Regions from separate parts of the Homo sapiens genome. Here region 1 is linked to region 2. Evidence: promoter capture Hi-C in 16 types of primary human blood cells and fetal thymus (Javierre and others, 2016). All regions are on one chromosome and are shown on one strand. Each heading gives the region's core, a stretch centred on a gene start or on the middle of the fragment in contact. The rest is flanking DNA. Distances are from core to core; before and after follow the strand shown. Region 1 has its middle 12 kb from the start of CENPW. Region 2 holds the start of HINT3 (histidine triad nucleotide binding protein 3).

Region 1 (3,861 bases), core at 779-3,278, 400 kb after region 2:
TGGCTCAGGTTTAATTTTTTAAAAAGAAATGGCCAAATGATTTTCCAGGGTGGCTGTACCATTTTACATTTCCATTAGCAGTGTATGGGAAATCCACTTTCTTAATATTCTCACAAATATTTGGTAATGTTACTATTTTTTAGTTTAGCTGTTCTGGCAAGAATATGCAGCATTGTGGTTTTAATTTACATTTTCCTGATGGCTAATGTCTTAGTTTAGGCTGGTATAATGAAATACCATGCACTGGATAGCTTATAGATAACATAAATTTTTTTCTCACAGTTTTGATGGGCGGAAGGTCTGAGATCATGGTGCCAGCACAGTCAGGTTCTGGTGAGGGTCCTCTTCTGAGTTGCAGACTGCTAACTTCTCATTCTGTCCTCATACGGAGGAAAAAAGGCCAGAGAGCTCTCTGCCTCCTTTTAAAGGACATTAATCTCATTTATGACGACTTTATTCTCATGACCTAATTACCTCCCAAAGGTCGTTCCTCCTAATACCATCACACTGGTGATTAGATTTCAATGTAAGAATTTTGGGGGACACAAACATTTAGTCCATAATAGCTGATGATGAACATATTTTCGTGTGCTTATTTGCCATCTGTATATTGACTTATACATTTTTATACTTTAATGAGATATAAGGGAAAGAATACCTGTGTGGTCAGTCTTGAACAGAAAGCCTCATGGATTCATAGTTCAGCATAATATAGTAATACATATATGTTTCCAAATTAGTAATTTTTTAAAGCATTAATGTGAAAAAATTTAAATCTTATTTGTAATGTAAGTATACATGTTTAACATAAAATTATATTCTGAACAAAAATAGTTATAAATAAATAGGACTTCTCAAGAGAATGTAAATTTGAAAAAAAACAACTAGAATATGTAGTTAATGCTGAATAGTTCTTTAAATGTAATTAATATCAAAATGTTATTTTTCCTTCAAGAGCTGGACTAGGGAATTTTGGTTTTAAGACAGAACTAATGTGCTCAGAGGTAATGTCTTTTTTTTTTTAATGATGTTTTCCCCATATTTTCTATCTCTTATATAGTGATAGTTAATCCCACTGCCTTGTTCCTGAAACAGGCAAGGTGGAGGAGAAAGAGAGAGAGTGAGTGTGTGTGTGTGTGTGTGTGTGTAAGTGGAGTAGGATGAGGGAAGTTGCTAGAGTCAGTAGAAGTAGGTGATATTATCCGTGTGATACCACACAGCCAAAAGCCTCCTTTTGGGTGACTTTTGTGATACCTGTGTGATACCCAAAAGCCTCCTTTTGGGAGGCTTTCTTGTAGATAGGAATTTTGCTGTTTTGGTAAAAAATTATAACTCCAGCATTTTCATGTTGGGGAGTTAGAGACTGAACTAAACCAAAGTCAAAATGAGGATAGTAATAGTGATATGATAAATGTATTGGCTTGTTTTCTGTGTCGTCTGGGGTGTTTATATGCCACATACTTCCCTACCTGACTTAGAAAAGAAAGAGAATCTAGAATGTGGAGTTTATTAGAGGTGGGGGAAGATGTGTTTATTAGATTAACTGCATTTTTTTCTGGATGTTGAAGAGAGTCAGTGAGACCTTGAACAAGTAATTTAACTGGAGCCTTAGTTTCCCCATGTGTACATTTAGTAACTACTGTTTTTGGCCACATATTTTCCTTTTTGGGAAAATCAGGGTGACTTCAGTTTTGGCTTCATGGTTATGGGTGGTCTATATCTCAACTGTGGGTTTCATTTTTTTTTTTCTTTAAAATCCTCAACCTCATTTGAGGTCTTGATTGATGAACATGAGATGGGTATGAGACCTTAAGATGGATATTTAGTTCTTCTTCCTCAGTATTTTAATCTTGACAATCAATATAGCACCTTGTGGCTGTAGGTAAGTTTAATAACAGTATACTCCCTAGGTCAGTGGTTTTCAAGCTTTACTAAGCTTCAAAATCACCTGGAAGATTTGTTAAAATAAAGATTGCTCATGGGGATTCTGATTCTATTTAGGTGGGAGCTGAGAATCTGTATTTCTAGCAGGTAGCCAGGTGATGCTAGTGTTGCCATCCAGGGGCCATGCTTCCGAGAACAACTGTTCTAGATCACAGGTTGGCAATATTTTTGTAAATAAAGCTTTATTGGAACACAGGCACACATGTGCTGCTTATCTGTGGCTGTTTTCTTACTACAACTTAGGGTAGTGTTGAGTTGTTGCAGCAAATACTGTGTCCTGCAAGCCAAGTTACTTAGTATCTGACCCTTTACAGAAGAAGTTTGCTGACCCCTGTGTTAGATAATTCTTGCCCTAACCTCTGTATTTTGCTTTTACTTGAGTTGCCAAAATGGCAAAAGAGGGATTGATACTCTAGAGGCTTTTTATTTATATTAGCTACACTGAAGTATGACACTTCTGATTGAATTTAGTGAGGGATAGAGTTTTGAGATACTCCAGTTATCACCAGTAAAACAACTATTTACATTGTTTTCTTGAGATATTATCATCTCTAATCCATGTTGCTTGTATTTCCTTTTTGAAGGAATCTACCTTACTGAGACTTGGCATTTCCTGTTTCCAACTAGCTATAAGAGTTTTGTTTGGTTAGCATTTGTATGATATATATCTTCCATCATGATGCTTACAAACATCCTGCATCCTTTAAAGTGTGTCTCATAATCAGTGTATATTTGGGTTTTGTGTTTTCATCTTATCTGGTAGTCTTAGTAATTGGAATTTGCAGTCCATTTACATTTAATGTAATTACTGCTACATTTGGTTTCTATTATACATTTTACAATTTGCTGGTGTATGTGACCCAGCACCTTTTTCTTTCTGCTTTTATTTTCTTTTGAATTAACTTTTATGATTCATTTTATTCTTTATTACTCTAGTTATACATTCTTATACTAGGAATTATAACATGCATCATTGACTTGTTATATCCTCTATCAATCTGCTATTTATATAAACTTTTACTAAAGATTATAATCTGCACTGTTGACTATTTCTAGAACCTTAGAAGGCTTTAATGCCATTTACTTGCTGCCTTTTGATTATTTTAATTTTACATTTGTTAAACCAACCATATAGACACAAATGTATTACTAGTATGACTTGGTACTGTCACTACTAAGTGAATATTTATATTATCACATTTACCGTTTTCTTTGCTGATCATTTCTTTAACAATTTTATATTTCCCTATGGGATCTTTTTTTTTTTTTAACAACCCGAAGAACTCTCTTTACTATTTTCCTGTAGTAACTGTTTCTTGGTAGTACATTTCCTGTTTTCTTTTTTTTCTGATAGAATATTTCACTTTAAACTTGAAAGATATTTTCATCAGATAGGAAAGTCTAGATTGCCTATTATAGCAAATAATGTTAAAATGTCATTTTATGTCTTCAGGCTTCTCTCATATTTTTAGAAGTTAGGCTTATAGAGGGTAATATGTCTTTTTTAAAAAAATCTGTTGCTAAAGGTTTTTCTTTCTGGTTTTCAGCAATCTTGCTATGATTCATTTTCCTAGGATTTGTCTTTTTTGTTGTTGTTTCCCTTTTTATTCTGCTTGGGGTTCCTGCCTGAACTTTCTGATACCATAGGATGGTGTTTTTCTTCAGTTTGGGAGATTCTTGGCCATTCTCTTTTCATGTGTTGCTTCTGCCCCATTTTCTCTCTCCTGTTCGAGATTCTAATTATGTATTATTCTTAGATGTTTGATTATGTCACACATTATCTCTTACACTCTTCCATTTTTCCCATTGAATTTTTTCTCTGTCTTTTAGTTTGGCTATTTCTGTTGACTTGTCTTTTATTTCACTAATTTTCTCATCTGTTTCATCTGCTCTCAAACATCTAATGAGTTCTACATT
Region 2 (3,783 bases), core at 912-3,411:
TACATGTGTATGATATGAATCAGCACACTCTTATCTGTAGTATCCTTGCACACTGTGAAACCTGAACACTCTCATGCTGTGACCTTGCTCCTAACCATTCTTCATTAGAAAATTGTTAAATGTCTACCTCCATGCAAAGCACTGTGTTGCAGGATTATTTAGGAATCAGAAAGACCGAGGGGTTGAGGAGGATTTATTATTTAGGTGCACCGGCACAGTCAGATTAACATCCGCTGAGCCCCGAACAAAGGGTCAGGTTACCTTTTAAGCATTTCGTGGGCAGGGGGCAGTTGGGGGGAGATCTGTGCAGGGGGAAGCATATTACAGAAGTAAGAAAAATGACAGTTATTTAATTGAGATATGCATTACATAATTTCTTACTTTTCAAGGAAAAACATATTTTATGACTTGAGTTTATCTGTCTAGTGACTTTGCAGCTGCACAGCTAGAGAAACAGGGTCTTCACAATGCCTGGGAAAGGGAGAGATAAGGCTCACTAGCCACAGATAGAAAAACAGGCAGTTAATTTTTAAAGGACTCTACCTCTTTCTCCTCCTCAGGGGGAACTGGGTTTTCTTACATACAACTGAGTTTTTGCTTACATATTCTTTAATTCCTGTTCCAACTGTACTAGGCATTATGGAAGATTCACACACCCAATCTTGTTGCCAAGAAACATAATTCCTAGCAGGATAAATAAGTACATAAATAGCTATAAGATACAAAGAGACAAATCCTACAAGAGAAATATTGAAAACCTGTTATATGAATTTGCAAGAGGATGTGCTTATGTCAGTTTGGCTAAAGAAAATTTCATGAAGGAGGTAGCATTGGAGGGGTGGCTTGGAAGGTAGAATTTGGAGTGAAGAGATGGAAACAAGAATATTTGAGAGAGAACTGTGTGAATAAAAGCAGTGATGTGAAGGTGTAGTACAGGCATGGAAATTGTGAATACTAAAATTTGGCAAAACTCTAATGTATTGATTCTGAACTCTGCTTTGGGGTGCTGAAAGGCAGTGAAGCTATTGTAGTGGTTCCCCAAACTACGGGCCAACTACAAAAAGGAATGAAAAATGTCTTGAATGTATATGTACAACAATTCAAAACACATACAACCACTTTTTATTACAACATAAATCCATTAAAAATCATTACTGAATTCCCAATTTGTTATGTATTTTCTAAATCAGCAAATACCAAGGGTGTAACTACTATAGTGAGCTAGTCCAACAAATTTTTTGGTGTTAAAAAAGGAGTGCTGTATGTCAAAAAGGTTGGTGGGTTTTGGAGTTAGACAAACCTTGATCTTAAACTCTGTCACTATTAATTAGTTGTGTGGGACTGGGCAACTCTGAGTTTGGTCCTTCATCTCTAGAGCGGTGGTTATAAAACCAACCTTGCGTTTTTTGACAATTAGAGAAATATATGGCATGTTTTAGATGCTCAGCAAGTGGGAAGTATCACAAAACGAAAAGCTGAGGTCAAATCAGAGTCCACCTTGAACACCAAGCTAAGGAACTGGTACTTTTTCTTTGAGCACATAGTTACAGAAGGTTTTGTCTGAGTGACAGGAAAATCAATAAGTAAGTTAGAAGGTGATTGCGTTGGTCTAGGTGAGGCATTATGAGGCACTGGCATTGAATTTCTGGGATATTTCAGAGTATTGACTATAGGACTCCACATCTACTTGTATATGAGGAATGTGAGATTAAAAAAAAGGTCGCTAGTTTGATCTAACTGTGCTGTTAACAACAATAAAAAGTCAACAGAGATGTAAAGGTCAGTTTTGGACATTTTGAGTTTAAACTCCTACAATTATCGTGGCTGAAAAAGCAGCAAACATGATGTCTGTTGAAAACAAGGCTTTAGGAATTTTGCTCATTCTTTAAAAACCTACGAATTTTAAAAATCAAACTTTAAAAAACTTTTTGTTTTTTTTTTTAAAAAAACGGCAGCGTAATACAATATTTGGACACGCTATACTATGGGCTTTGAAGAACGCCTGTCCAGAACACCCAACAAGCTCCATTATGTCAAACGCTCCCGCGCCTCTGTGATGTCACCACGACGCGCTGGGCGCTCTGCGACTTGGCAGACGTCGTGCGTCATTACCAACGAGGCGCAGGGGTCAGGACGACTCTCGGCAGCGCCATTGCGCGCCCTCTAGTGGCAGCCGGTTTTGAGGCCGGCCTCCGGCTTTGAAGTTCCTCACCGCGTCTCCTTCCCTCTCCCCAAAGCCTGGATCACCGCCCAGCGTCAGGCGAGGGGCGACGTCTCGAGGTAAAACGGAGGAGGTGCGGGACGCGGAGACTGCGCGGGCCCGGTAGCCCTGGAGAGGCCGAGGCTCTAGGCCGCGAGGGGCGGGTGCAATGGCGGAGGAACAGGTGAACCGCAGCGCCGGCCTGGCCCCCGACTGTGAGGCCTCGGCGACTGCAGAAACTACGGTTTCCTCAGTGGGGACCTGTGAAGCCGCTGGCAAGTCACCAGAGCCCAAGGACTACGACAGCACCTGCGTGTTCTGCCGGATCGCGGGGCGGCAGGACCCGGGCACCGAACTCCTGCACTGCGAGGTGGGCGGCGACGCGCGGCCGGGGGTGGGTGAGGACCTGGCCGCCCCTCGGAGCTCCGGCAGGGAGGCCTCGCCGTTGTGGAGCGGGTGCAGAGGATCCCGATCGCTACTCAGCTCGCAGAGGCAGGGCCGCTCTGTGTGGATGGGGCTCGGGGAAGCTGGGGATACGCCCACTACGGGCCTTTCTGCAGGGTCCGGGTGCTGATGACAGACTCACTCCTAGGGGACTGACAGGCAGTGGCTCCAGCGGTATCTTTGCTGTTCCCAGGGGCAAAGAGTGAATGACAGGGCCGAATGCTTTGGCCTATGTTTGCAGGTACCCAGGTAGTTGGTACAAATAACATTTTGTGGCCTCTGCTTTTATTACAAGGATTCTTCTCCACCTTCAAGATACTGATTTTAAATCCTGCACACTCTAATACCGATACTGATGAGAAAACTAGTAGAAAATAGGTAATGATAATTGTGGAAAGCTGTTTGTTAGATTGGCAGAAAATAGGCTGGAGGGAGTGGGTCTGAGGTCAAACTATTATTGAATTGCCTCTGAATTCCACTGTCAGTTGGGATGCGTGGACATTTTCAGAGCATGAAGACTTTGCCCAGATATTTTTAAACGGATAATCTGGCACACACTTTATTCTGTTGGTTTTACTTGTCCATATAGAAACAACTTTTTGAGAGAATTAGCTCCAAAGATTGTGTCTTTTGTAGTAAACATTCCTTTATTTTTTAAAAAATAAATATAATTCCTTCTAAGCACCTTGTTTTGGAGGTTTTTGAGCAAGATAAGGGACAGTCTGTGTCCCGATTTTACAATCTAAAGGGCGGAATGTATACAGAGGAGGTAGCCAGTTACAATGCCTCGTGCTGTGGTCAGGTGATTTTACAGTATTTTGTAAGCTTGTGGGAGGAGCATCTAACCCAGCTCTGAAGAATTAGGGAAGGCTTTCCAGAGGAAATGAGACATGAAGAAATAAGTAGGAGTTGATCAGATGAGGAAATGGAGAGAATAATGTCCCAGGTTGAGAGACCCCCCGAGAGGTTCAGTTTGTGTGATAGAAAAACTAACAGAAATTGTCTAACTAGTGCATAGAGTTTGAGAGGATGAAAGGCGAGGCTGGAGAGGTAAACAAGGGACCAGATTATTAAGTGTGTTGGAAGTCATGTGAAGGAATTTGTCTTTATCTGAAGAGCAAAGTGAAACTTCACAATGT

The links. Contacts are between HindIII fragments. The CHiCAGO score rates a contact against its expected background, and 5 or more counts as called.
Region 1: a fragment that was not itself captured here is called in contact with the fragment with the promoter of HINT3 in region 2 in 1 of 17 cell types (fetal thymus); the score reaches 5.1 in fetal thymus.

What each region holds. Positions count from the first base shown.
Region 1 is chr6:126,350,026-126,353,886 of GRCh38, forward strand. It overlaps a transcript of CENPW not described here. Among named protein-coding and RNA genes, the nearest start is that of CENPW, 12 kb to the left of the region's middle. The HindIII fragment of the contact is 188 bases long and covers 1,935-2,122 here.
Region 2 is chr6:125,954,609-125,958,391 of GRCh38, forward strand. HINT3 (histidine triad nucleotide binding protein 3) reads left to right here and starts at 2,162. Exons shown (of 5, transcript NM_138571.5): 1 at 2,162-2,570. The coding sequence starts at 2,370. RefSeq lists enhancers at 2,175-2,274, 3,335-3,384 and a silencer at 2,445-2,664. The HindIII fragment of the contact is 9,214 bases long and covers 1-3,467 here.